Linked DNA regions of Homo sapiens: region 1 is linked to region 2. Evidence: promoter capture Hi-C in 16 types of primary human blood cells and fetal thymus (Javierre and others, 2016). All regions are on one chromosome and are shown on one strand. The core of a region is centred on a gene start or on the middle of the fragment in contact, and the rest is flanking DNA. Distances in the headings are between cores, read along the strand shown.

Region 1 (7,139 bases), core at 1,195-3,694, 7.4 Mb after region 2:
ACCATATAAAGAAGCTCAAAAAACATTTGTTGAATTCATGAAGTATTACAACCTTACCAATAATAAATAAGATAATTTATAACAATTGGTCCTGGTCTGTGGCCTTGAAAGAGCAAATTAGAGGAGAAACCATTATCTAAAGAGCTACACATCTGGTGTTCCTGCTAGCTGACTGCTGGTGGAATGAAAATAACCCTGGACTTGAAAATAAGATGCTTGGTTCTAGTCTAATCTCTGACACAAACCAACTGTGTGACCTTGGGCAAACTGCTTTACCACCTGGGCCAGTTTCCTAATCTCTAAAATAAAGGTATTCTAAAACTATATACATATATATATGGAATCTTTATTATAGGCCAAGAAGTGTTCCAAGATCTTTGCATTAGAATTAAATGATCTCAAAGGTTTTTGCAGCTCAAATGTTTAGTATCTAAGTACAGAGGCAGCATGGTATAATTAAAAGATTCCAAATTCTGTAGCCAGAAAGGTTGGACTCCTCCTCAGCTCTGTAAGGTAAGGTCTTTCTCTAAGCAGAGACTGTTAAGCAGAAGGGCTTACAGTCTCAGTCCTTTTATTCACCAGTGTTTTAACTTGAACAAGTTACTTAACTTTCCTAGCCTTAGTTTTCTAATCTGTAAAGTTGATATAAAAATGGTTCTCACTCTCATATAGCTTTTAAGAGGATTAAATTATAACACATATATTTTATTGAATATATATTATATTGCTAGCTGTGTAATCATGGGCTATCTTCTCAAGTTTTTTCTCATATACAAATGGGAAATGTAGTATTAAAAAGAGATCATGTGAACAGGTTCTAAATGGTCAAGTGTTAGTGGTTTTGGAAGCATGTACGTTAATACTTGGAACACCGTATACAACAATCCCATATCTAACACTTAGAACAGCATATGCAATCAATAACAACACACACACACACACACACACACACACACACACACACACACACACACACACACACAAACCCTAGACTTCTTTCTTTACTAAATATTTCTAGTCCAGGTTGCAGCAGGTGGACACAGGCCGGCAGCCATGAACGCAGGTCCACATGGGAGTTGTAGTTCCGAGTCAAGCGGCTGCTCTACAGAACGGCTAGAAGCGAGACTTCGTCTCCCAGGAGACATCTCGCCGTGCAAAATGGCACGCCACGAGGTGGAGTACCTGCCCGACGAGAAACAAGAGGCGGGACTGCAACTCCCAGAAGCCTCCGCGGCCAAGGCCTCAGGCCGCAGGCTGAAGCCAAGGAGGGAGAGTTCAGGTAGATCCGGCTTAACATCAGGTGCGAGTAGGGACCACCCTTGGTAGTCTGGGCCCGGCCCAGGTCAGAACCTTACTAAAACAACCACTGTGAGTATTTTCTATTGGTCCCAGCACATTTCTGAGAGACCAGAATAATAATAGCAGTAAATCTGCAAGTGGTAAACTTTCACAAGCATAACCTCAATTTAGATTTCGGCTTCAGGCAACATCCTTTGGCCACTTGACCTGGGAGCATTGAGCTCCTTGTTTCCCAGATAAGCGCTGTGAGTGGCTGTTCCAAGGTAACACAGCGAGGGCAGAATGTGAGCCTACAGAGAAATCTGCAGATGCATCTCAAGTTCCACTAACCTGCCTCCTTACCCCCCACCACCACCAACTTGGATATACCTTTAAAATTCCCCCCTTTGACGCTAAAAATAAAAACAACAACCATAAAATAAGTGTAAGAAAGTCCGACCAAGTACCGATGAGTTCTCCCACAACAATAAATTCGATGCCTCTTTGCCTGTTTTTGAAGTAGTAATGTAAAATTATCTCCCAAAATGCTGCCTTCTCTATACTCCGGTTTGCTCCTGTCCTGGGCACGTGTTCAGCAACCCCTTAGGGGAATCCAGAGCTGCGTGTTTAACACAGACCTGTTGGGACGGATTTTCGCTACTTGTCTATGAAACTGACGAACCATCCCAAAACGGCGGGTGCCGACTACACCCCCAGAGCCAAGAGCTGTGGCGTCCCCGGACCCGCTGGCGTGGCCCCGTGCCTCAGTTTCCCCAATGTATAAACACGGTGGAGGAGGAACGGGTTAGGGCTAGGGTCGGTGCTTGGGAATTGGGGGGCCCGAGTCCCCACCCTGAGACCCTCGTGGGGCGGAAGAGTACTCGGGACAGAAGCCCACCGCCCCGTGAGCGGCGCCGGCCCCACTGGGCTCCGGGGTGATGACCTGACGCGCGTGGAAACCCAGACCCGCGCCCCAGAAACAGTATTCCACTTGGGCTTGCCTCCCCGCCCCTACCTTCCAGGATGTTGACAGCTGGGAATGAAAGGCAGAGGGAGGGAGCGCGGGGCCGGAGCGCCGCCTGGGAGTGTGCCCACTGGGTGGCCGCCTGAGGGACCCGGGAACAGAGGGCAAAAAGTCCTGTGACCGGACAGAGCAGAGCGGGGACTGCAATTCCCAGAAGACCCCACGGTAGGGGCGGGACCCAAGATGGCCGCTTGTCTGGGGACAGGAGCGGAGGCCAATACGCGCAGAGCATGCGCCTACGCCGGGCCAATTGAAAGCCATAGTGACAGTAACCCTGATTCAGGGGCGGGAAACACTGACCACAGAAGACAAGTTGAGGTGAGAATCCCCTTACAAGGGGGTTTGGGGCATAAATCGCACAATCTTTGGCTTTTTCTAACTAGAAAAAGAAACATGATTCTTTTCACGTGTAACGAAAGGCTGTACCGCACTTTTGCTTTTTTCTTTCCTCCCAAAACGCGTTTAACTATCCCTTCACGACTTCCCACTGGCTGGATTTCTTTTCGTTTCATTTCCCCACTCTGGATCTTTCTGGATTCCTTAAGCCTTCTTTTCTTTATGTGTCTCTCAGAAACACAGACTTGCAGTCCCTGGCTTGATCCATCAAATAATGTGGTCATTTACGACTACGCTCAGCCCTCCCTGGCATCCTAACAAAATTGCACCACATGCGCCCCTTCTCTTTTCCTTTCTGTCTTTTCTGTGCTGTTTTTCTCCTTAGCATTTGTCGTTACGAAGCATTGTATAAAATTTACGTATTTATCTTTTTTACCATCTTACTTTCTCACTAGAATGCAAGATCCCTGCAGATGTGGATTTTTGTTTTGGTCACTGTAGTCTTTCTAGCACCTAGAAAAGTGCCCAGCACATAGTAAATACACCGTATTTTCAATAATTGAACGAAATCTAGAGTGACCTTTCTCCCCTAGTCTCCCTTTCTCTGGTGCAGATCAACCCGTTTCTGACCACCATGGTTCCTTGTGCTTGTTCCCCTGTTTAATCCAAAATCATTATTGATGTATTCTGTGCCAAATGCCATGTGGGTGCTGGAGAAATCATTGATTCAGACCCAATTCCTAACCTCAAAATGCTCTGTCTAGTGACGTATGAAAAGTAAAATTAATTTTACAATAAATGCAATTACAAATTGCAGAACACCTACGTAATTTTCACAAGGTCATGCAGCTCCTAAGCAAGGACTAGATTCCTGGCTGCAGACTCTTGCCATTACATCGGGAAAAACAAAGAGCAGTTTTCTCTCAGACAAACACTAAGATAGGTCCCCATTTTCCTTAGCACCATTTCCTTTCTCTGTCTCTCACTTTTTTATTTGGCCTGATTCATTACATGCAGGCAATTACATCAAGTCTTAGATCTCTCATTATTTCTAATATTTGAATCCCATGGAGAGTAGCAAGGTGTCCTACAAAGTGTCCTGGTGTGAAAATCTGATGTCCTTGGAAGCTTGACTCTCAGAGAATGTCACATTGGATTATAGTTCATCACACAGACACCATGGCCACATAAAATATTATCAAATTGTGAATAACAAAGTGAAATTGAAAAAAAAAATATAGTTAAAACAGCAGGAATGTGAGCAATATATGTACAGACTGATTTTGTGCATAGAGATTAAAACACCTGTTCAGGCTTCCTAGCCTAATCTTCTGTCAATTTGGGGTCATTTCCTGTAATACAATTCTTTGTTGCTTTTATGAGCACAGACTTAGCTCAGCAGTCCCAGCTATTCTCAAGCTGATCGACATGAGAGATTTCAACACATGTGTCAGCAGCCAGACTAAACGTGGAAGAAAATCAGAAGCATTTGAAACTGTAAAGCTCAATAACTTTCCTCCTCCTGAGAAAGCATCAGCCTATAATCATTACATCTTCTACTTAGCAGTCAAAAGGCAAATGTCATGAACATACTCAGGGTCTAAACAGTGGTGTCTAATGATTATTGCACTGTTGTCAGATAGCCTAATATGAGCACATAGGTATTACTTCAGCTGTGGATAATGCTGACTGCTGGGCTCAAGGTCACCCACGACCTTGAGCAACAGATACATTCACAAAGAGCATGAAGACATAGAACTTGCATTGGATTCAGGACCTTCAAGTGCCAAGACAATCAGTGGGAGGTTACTGTCTGATCTGCAACTTGACTGAATTAATAACCACCTTAGTATGGGTTCTCCCAGAAGCAGATCTGGAGACAGGTATTCAAGAGCAAGTATTTTATTTAGGAGGTTATCGCAGGAAACACCAGTAAGAGACTAAGAAAGTGAAATAGGGAAGAGAAGACCAAAAAGATGCCTTATCTAGCACATTACCGCTAGAGGCACCCAGAACTTAATCCTCCTAGAAATCTCTGGGAAACAATATGGAACATGTACCTTAGACTGAGTGATTCCACCAAGAGGACAAGATAACTGGGTTGTTTAAACACCAACTACCGTCAGTCAATGATTGGGGGCAGCTTTCAGGGATTATTAAGACCCTGGCTTGTCTGCAATGCTCCAAGAGTAGACAGAGTTGCCTCAGTGGCCACAGAAAGCCAGAGATAGAAGAATTAAGAGTCACATTGGTATACGCTGAAATAGTAAGGGAATATAGCATACTGGCGGGGCACCAATAATATCTGCTACAGGTGGCTTTGGTTTACCACAAGCTCATGTCACTGAAACTAACAGAATAAGAATAAGTCAGAAACTAAGTAGATAAATACAAAAAGCCCAAGCAGCCTACCACCTTCTATCACTCATCAACAATTAAGATAGATTGTACTTTCTAAATCCTCACTAAGACATACAAACCAAACAATAGCAGAAGCCTCATTTACACTGGGGAATAGGAACTCTTTGGGCATTTAAGGAGGGTGCTTTGGGAGCTTTGGGGCATGGTAGTGCAAGGAGAAAGAAGATTAAGAAAAGGGGAAAAGGACATTTAAAGAAACGTGTTAAAAACATTGTGTTTTTCATTTTATGGTCTTGAAACATGAGTAAAGGGTGTGGATATTTTAAGAAGGTAGCATCAAGATCTGGGTGACTTTTAGACCCAGAAGACAATTTTGTGAAAGACTTCTGTGGATTGTGCCATTATAGTACTTCTTCATAGCAAATATCTTTACTTGAAATTATACCCACATTTATTTGTCCTTTTGTTTATCATCTGTCTCCTTCAAACAAAAGGTAAACTCCATGAAGGTAAGAACTTTGTTTTCAGGCCAGGCACGGTGGCTCATGCCTGTAATCCCAGCACTTTGGGAGGCCGAGGTGGGCAGATCACGAGGTCAGGAGTTTGAAACCAGCCTGGCCAACATGGTGAAAACCCATCTCTACCAAAAATACAAAAATTAGCCAGGCATGGTGGCTCACACCTGTAGTCCCAGCTACTTGGGAGGCTGAGGCAAGGAATCACTTGAGCCTGGGAGGCAGAGGCTGCAGTGAGCCAAGATTGTGCCACTGCACTCCAGCCCAAGTGACAGAGCGAGACTCCATCTCAAAAAAAAAAAAAAAACAAACTTTATTTTTGTGTTATTCATTAGTCAGCACTCAATAAATATGTGGTTAACAAATGACTATATTATGGCTACAAAAAGTAAACAGGGTAAGTACTAGAAGAGCCTGACATTTGTACCATTTGTATCATTCAACTAAATCATAAAGGTAAGAGGCACTGGTAACTACACCATAACCCCCCATTATCACGAAGCTTGGGGCCATCCTTGTGTGTAGAAAAACTGGAGGTCACATAATGTTCTCTGGCTTTAGTCAAACACTTCCAACAGCATCCTCTTCAAGCACACATGGCCTACAAGGAAATCTTTACCATGGAAACAGAATTTCAAAACTAAAAAGTCCGTAGAGGTCAAAGAGTTCAACCCTCTGCATAATTCATCTTAGCCATATGTTACAGGTCATAATTCAGACCTTCAGACAAGAATCTTTATTTATTTGTAATTTATTACAAATTTATTTGAAAAAATAATATCTAATACAAAAATATTATATTAGAAAAAAGGAGAAACAATGCATTATTTTTGTAATACAAAGTATAGAAAGTTTGGGAAACTCAGTCGTACCCAAATGCTCTAGTCTGCTTCACACATTTCTTAACCTGTGATCATTAAGCTTTTTGGCTACCATTGGAGAATTCTGGTTGCCAGTAAGAGCCATCTTATGATGTGCTGAAAATTTTCTAAATTTTTCACCTATGTTTTTTTTTTCTGTCATCTTATTTCTCCCTTTGTTGTTCTGTGTTAAATGTATTCCTTGGGTAGATTTGTTCATCAGATATTTAGAGATCTGTCTATTCCCTATAGCTTGTGAACATATGCATGCTGTCTGCTTTTAACTGTGCCTCATAAATAATCACACTTAATCCTTCTTAGTGCCATCTTTTGCAATCATCTTCCAGTTACCTAGAACATAAGGTGCATAAAACTAAGCTCAGTGTCCAAGCTGTGATCTCAGTAGGGTGGCTCAGAATTAAGCGATGATTTTTCATCACTCTCTTTCAAGAAATTATGGCTCTAAACTTATTGCCCTGGTTTCACTGCAGCTTTAAAGACATTTCATCATTCTAGAAGATAAGACCCATTAAAAGCATTTTCTAAAAACTAAAAAATATAGTAGAGGAGAGTGCAGTTTCAATTCAGTTCCGTGTTTTATATATTGAGGGTTACTCTGCGAGCCATTGTGTTAGAGGCTGTAATTCACAAGTGAATAAGACACAGTCTCTGGAGTGGTACGGTAGTGAATACTGTAAGCATGTAAACAGATGAGCAAATCAATGTGATTCCCCATATGAGCCAATGCCAATGCCAGAATGAGTG
Region 2 (6,699 bases), core at 2,104-4,603:
CTTTAGTGAGTGCTACAAATCCCTAACCCAAGAGGCATCACATTTAATTATTGAGGTAACAATGATTGGGGTTTTAACTTGCCCATTATTCCAAATGGCCAACACCAGAAGAAATCTGTGAGCATCATTCCAAGGAAAGGTTCGGAGAAGTAATGTTCCATTATCTAGGGACATTCCTCCAGTATGTCAAAAGCCTACTGGTTTATAAACTTGGTGGGTGACTTCATTCTATTCAACTACTTTCTCTCTTTCTATAAATATATAACAAAGGCTGGGCGCGGTGGCTCATGCCTGTAATCCCAGCACTTTGGGAGGCCGAGGCAGGCGGATCATGAGGTCAGGAGATTGAGACCATCCTGGCTAACACGGTGAAACCCCGTCTCTACTAAAAACTACAAAAAATTAGCTAGGCATGGTGGCACACACCTGTAGTCCCAGCTACTCAGGAGGCTGAGGCAGGAGAATTGCTTGAACCCAGGAAGCAGAGGTTGCAGTGAGCCCAGATGGCGCCACTGCACTCCAGCCTGGGCGACAGAGCAAGAAAAAAAAAACAAAAAACAACAAAAAAACACATATATATAAAACAAAAATTTATCATGGTTTAAAAATGTAACAATGGTTACCAATGGTTAACCATTTTAAAGAGTACAGTTCTGTGATATTAAGTACATTCTACATTGATGCACAACCATCACCACCATCCACCTCTAGAAGTTTTTCATCTTCTCCAGCTGAAACTCTATACCCATTAAACCCTGATTCCCATTACCTTCTCCGCCCAGCCCCTGGCAACCACCATTCTACTTTCTGTCCCGACAAATTTGACTACTCTAGGAACCTCATAAAAGAAGAATAATACAATTTCTATCCTTTAGTGACCAGCTTTTCACTTGGCATGTCTTCAAAGTTCATCCATGTTGCAGTATGTGTCAAAATCTCCTTCCTGAAGGTTGAATAATATATCCTTGTATGTATATACTACATTTTGTTTACCCACTCATATCTGTTGATGGACACTTGAGTTGCTTCCACCTTCTGACTACTGTGAATAATGCTGCTATCAACATGGGTGTAAAAATACCTCTTTATTCAAGTACTTTGAAGAAACAAATGGGACGGGTGAATATAAAGGAATGCTCACACCACTTCCATATTCCTAAACATGCTGAGTATTTCTTTTCATTTGCAAAGTCTCTTGCCTGTATAAAAAGATTGCGTATTCATACTCTTACAAGTCTTTGGAATCAGTTATTTTTATAAAATTCTTATAAAGAGTGTGTATGCTCTAAGTACTAAAGAGAATTTGGCTTGTTCTTCATTAAAATAACTACTGTTTTCTATAACAGCATACTCTTAATTCTAATAGACTCTAGCTTTATCTTAAGCAAAACTGGATCTATTTTTCAAACCACTTTAATAGAAGCTACAACATAAGTTGGTACACTATATTTCAGCCTTGCAAATCAAGATGTCAGAATATTTTCGGGGAAGAGTAACTGTCAACTACCTCTCCTTTCCATTATCCCAAGAGTTAACCCCACTCACCTCTACCCACTCCATGAGGGTTTACTTTTCCTCTTTTCTTGACCAGCTTAATTTCAGATACCCACTTGGATCTAAGCTCTCACTGTGCTACTGAGAGCAAGGGGCTACAAAAGTTTAGAGGGTGGGTGACAGGCTTAGTTCTCTGCCTCTTACTAGCTCTGCTTCGTTGGCTGATGTGACATTTTCTTTCTCCAACAAAAAGTATTCCAGGGCTAGCCATCACATAAGATTTTTGGAAAAAAAAAAGTCATCTGACAGCAAGAGAAAGATTTTGTCAAGTGCTGATAATACAGTCCTAAGAAGGTGGATCTAATTGGAACCTGTCATTTCTTCCTCTGTGATTCTATCTTGCTTTTCCACTTTCCCTTTCTTAAGGCAGAATGTCCCTTCCACCAATATCCCCAGAGAGAAGTAAGGTGTTTGAATGCAGTTGTGTTTCTCAACTTTTAAAGTACGATAAAGAGTCCTAATCGGCTACTTATGTGGACCAAATGAAATAATGCGAACACAGTAAGACACAACAAATACAAGGAATTATTCAATAATTCATACAGAAGCTTCCAGCCTTAAGCTTATATCACAAAGGCTATAAAACAGGCTATAAAACAGACTAAAGTCTGAAAGCGCCCAAAACTAAGATGAAATTTTGATGCTTTTCTGTAGTGTCCATCAATCTACTTGTTTCAAAGATTTTTAAGTGGGAGATGAGAAGGGGAGATTTTTAAAAGTCAAGAAATGCAAAAGTGCAGTCAGCCAGAAGGCTCCTCACTGACTACCTTACTCGTCTCTGGAGAAAAACAGATGACTCAAATAGAACCAAGACCTAGTTCCAATGATCCACAACTCCTTGTTAAGACTGTACCAAAGAATTTCACCTGAGTCAAACAGGTGGGCAGGCAGCTCTAGCACTGATCTGACACAGTCATGTCCTTCCTTTCCGGTCATCTTCTTTGTGGGTTCGCAGAATTAAGTCTCTCGGATTCTCCATTCCGGTAATAATTAACTTGCTCCTAGGGGAAGATAGTACTTCTTCCCATGCCCCTTGAAATTCGAGCAAAAAATTCCATGTTTGACTAGCTACCCTTTCCTGGGGAAAAAGCCTATGCAAAGCTTTCATCTAATTATCATCCTAGGTCGGCTCGGTCTTTTTACACGTTGTAGACAGAGGCAGCATAACAGATAACAAGGACGCTGACGTCAGCCTACCTGTGATCGAATCCCGACTCAGCCATTAAGTTACCTCTGTGACTTAAATAGCCCAGGCAAGCTATTTAATCTATCTGAGCCTCAGAGTTTCCACCCGTAAAACAGGATTGAATGTGACGATAAGCAAATAACTGAAACACTGTCCAGGGCACAAGCGCTACGTGTACAGCGTCGGCATCATTGTCCTTACTAGTTTTAAGGATACCGACACCCGAGAGAGGAAAGACCACCCTCGCAAATCCACAATCAAGCGCTTGCTGCACGAAGGCGGGGTTGCAGGGCTCCCAGTACTCAACGTGAGGCCGGCGGGACCTCGGCCCCCGACTGCCGGCTCAGAGACCATCGGCTGACGCGCCGCAAGCCGAGGCGACTTCGGTCCAGCTCCGCCCGGCCGCGGGGCGCTAAGCCCGGGGAAGCCGCACCGGGCTCAAGACTCAGCGAGCGACGATGAAAGGAACCTGGAGTCCGATCTTACAAGTCACCGGTCGAAGCCACAGCCCGCTCTCAACTTACCGTTCGAGATGTAAACCATCTTGTCCCACTTCCCCGCTTCGGAGCCACCGGGCGCCTGGCCCCTGTCGGTTTCTGTATCTCCCTCTGCTCCCCGCCCTTCGAGCGTCACAGGCCGCGATTAGACAAAATGCTGACGAGGACGAAGGTGGGCAGAGCCCATTGGCTGCTGAAAGAGACGCGCCCCCGACGGGCGTTTTTGCATCGTCACATCTGCGACTTCTGGTTAGGCGGAGGCGGCCGAGCTGACAACCGGATATGACGTTAAGGACTGCCCTGTAGTGCCCGCGGTTGCCAGTCCTCTATCCGACTTGATCGTGCAGAGTTGGTTCGCACCGCCCAGTGAGGGGAAGCTGTTTTCTCGTCGATTGATAGGCTCCGGGTCTGGGTAGGAGAGGCTGCCCTGTATGAGGTAGCTTGAAGGGCCGCTGACAGGAGGAAACGCTTCCGAATTTTCCAGACGTGTTGACGTTTGAGGGTGCTGACTACACGTTAAGGAACTTTATTGTCACGCCTTTGGGAATATACTGCCAGGCTCTTCCTAGATATATTCATTCTCTTTAAAATGAGCATGTCTACCTGGGTTCACCAGAAACTAAGTTTTTCTTAGCCTTTTGTGAGGCAACTGAAAAATAAATTGAACTGTAGGCCCTTTCTCTGCTTGTTTCTTATTGATGGCGACTGCTTATGACCACTTTGGTGACAGACGAATTAGAAGACATGTCTTGGACATTCAGTAAATGTGGACCACATACCATGGATATTTACTCTGCTACAGCCAGTGGGCTGCCTCTGTTCCTTGAACGTGGCCATTTCATTCCCTTCTCAAGGCCTCTGCACTTAGCTATTCTTTCAGCGTGGAGACCTAATGGCTGCTTCCTTTGACTTCCCGCCCCCAGTTCTCAAGCCATGTGTCATCTCTTTGGAAAGATTCCTAATCACCTTCCAGAAAATGAAAATTACATGCTGAAAATCTATTTTGAGTTTAACAACTTTGGTTAAGATTTTATGTTCTAATACTTAGAACTGACAAAGATCTAATTTTATGTTGATTTTGGAGAGAGCATTTTCCCCAGAAAAGTTCATAATAGGACAAGACAACATCCTTCACCTCATTTGGGATTTGTGCAGCACAATCATAAAGGATCATTTCTGCAAAAATATTAGGGCAGGGCCGTTAATTTTCCCAAGGGCCTTTCTTAATCTAGACCATGCCACCATCATCTCTCACCTGCTCTACGCTAGTTTCCTTCTAAATGAAATCTCAGGTTCAGTCTTTTACCATCCTTAGGCAGTTTTACAAACTGTAGCAAGATCGATCTTAAAACGGAGATCATCTCGTTCCCTTGCCTAAAACCTTTTGGACACTAAAATTTAGTGACTTCCTATTGCTCTTAAAATCCAGTTCCTTGTCATGGCCTGCAGGCCCAAGGTGACTTGTCCTCTTGATTGCTCCTCTCACTGTACTTCCAGCCACATCTCCCCACCCAGATTATGCTCTGGCAACATTGTTGTTTTAGTTTATGAACACCCCCACCCAGATTATGCTCTGGCAACATTGTTGTTTTAGTTTGTGAACACCCCGGGTTTTACTGATACCTCCAGGACTCTGCCCATACTTGTCCCTCTACCTGGAACCCTCTTCCTCGGACTCCTTGCACATCCAGCTCATTTTATCCTTTAGCCCTCTGCTTAGTTGTCACCACTTCTGGGTGCCCTTCCCTGGCCACTCATCTCCGTGTTTATTTTCTTCATAGTAATTCACATTGTGAAACTGTCTGATAATTGATTTGTCTCTTGTCTTCAAGAAAATATAAGACGTAAGAGGTCAGGAATCCTGTCTGCCTTATTGTCTTTTATATCTTCAAGGTCTGTCATAGTTCTTGGCAAGTAGTAGGTGCTCAGATATTTGTTGGTTGGTTGAATGAGATTTTTTTAGACAATTTTTTGACAATTGCTTAAAATCTCTCCAATTGCCAAAAGAGGAAAGAAACTAACATTGGGATCTCCTGAGTATCGGACATTGTGAGGCTATCTCTTCCTTTCCATTCCTTTATCTAGATCATTTTTGCCTGAGATTTAATGCAGTGATTTCCTAATGAGCTACCTCTAGTTTCTCCGTACTCCATTTCATGCTATCTTCACCTGTTAGTTTAATCCAATCTTGCCTCTCCCATTCACAGACCTTCCGTTTCTTCCCACCACCTGACAAACATAATTCAGCCTCCCTGGTCTGGCATTAAGGGCTTTCCTGATACATCTTAGATTTTGCTCTCTGATTTCTACTTCCCTAGTAGACCCTTTGTTTTCCTGCCTTGTTGCCTCTGCTCATGTGTTTCCTCTTGAAAGGAACTTTCTCCACCTGCTAAAATCTAATCAATCCTTCAAGGCAAGGCATGTTCCTCTCGAATAACAAAGGTGAAAGGACTTTGAAAATTGAAAAAAATTATATAGTTAGTTACAATTATAGTTAGTTACAATTATATAGTTAGTGGTAGAGGACAAAGATAGCATTTCCCCTCTTTCCCTAACCTTTAATGTCTGAAACTAAGCATTAGCCACTAGCCACATGTAGCTGTTGAATATTTGAAATGTGGCTAGTCTGAATTGAAATGTACTGTACAAAATACCAGATCACAAAGATTTAGAATGAAATGAAGACTGTAAAATATCTTGTTTTTAATATTGATATGTTGAAATGATATTTTGGAGATTAAAGAACATATGTTACTAAAAGTAATTTTATTTGTTAATTTCATTTATTTTTATGTGACTACTAGAAAATTTAAAATTACATACTTGGCTCACATACATGGTTTACATTACATTTCTGTTGGATACTGCTTGTCTAGAATGAAGACATTGGCCTGGCAAAGAAGAGGTATTCAATAAATACTTGTTGAGTGAATGAAAGAATTGGTAGTTTTAATAATGGATAATATGTATACAGGGTTACTATGTGTCAGGCACTGTTCTAAACACTTTCCATTTATTCATTTAATCCTCATAACAACGACGATAATAATAGCTAACATTTGTATAGTGCTTACCCTGTGCCAGGGAACGTTCTGATTGCTTTTCATGTATTCATTCATTTAAACTTCAACCCTACTGAGTTCTGTTATTCCCATTTTACAGATGAGGAAACTGAGAGAGAGCTCAAGTGTCTTGCCCAAGATCACACAGTTAATAAGAAGCAGAATTGAGGTTAAGATCAAGAGCCAGGCTCTATAGTTTGTGCTCTTAACCCCTGTGCTATGCTGCATCTCCACACATAACAGAAGTATTGAAATAGTGTACAATCCACCACGGTATTTGTAGTATAGAATGAGAGGTGATTTCTGGAGACTGTTTGACTGTATCTCAGCTTTCTCAAAGTTGCAAAATAGCTGCCCAGTTTTTCTTTTCTAGATTCCCCAGCAAAATTCCCTGAGCATC

The links. The method cuts DNA at HindIII sites, captures the fragments that hold promoters and counts their contacts. A CHiCAGO score of 5 or more calls a contact.
Region 1: the fragment with the promoter of FHIT here is called in contact with the fragment with the promoter of SELENOK in region 2 in 2 of 17 cell types (non-activated CD4 T cells and total B cells); the score reaches 6.4 in non-activated CD4 T cells.

Annotation. Positions count from the first base shown.
Region 1 is chr3:61,249,008-61,256,146 of GRCh38, forward strand. FHIT (fragile histidine triad diadenosine triphosphatase) reads right to left here and starts at 2,445. Exons shown (of 10, transcript NM_002012.4): 1 at 2,294-2,445. It overlaps LOC124909387 (a long non-coding RNA gene), which reads left to right and starts at 2,585. Exons shown (of 2, transcript XR_007095939.1): 1 at 2,585-2,620. RefSeq lists enhancers at 1,034-1,313, 1,594-1,723, 1,864-1,993, 2,124-2,183, 2,248-2,542. The HindIII fragment of the contact is 4,935 bases long and covers 1-3,764 here.
Region 2 is chr3:53,888,506-53,895,204 of GRCh38, forward strand. SELENOK (selenoprotein K) reads right to left here and starts at 3,354. Exons shown (of 5, transcript NM_021237.5): 1 at 3,265-3,354. The coding sequence starts at 3,283. RefSeq lists enhancers at 2,542-3,442, 3,333-3,632. The HindIII fragment of the contact is 7,183 bases long and covers 2,654-6,699 here.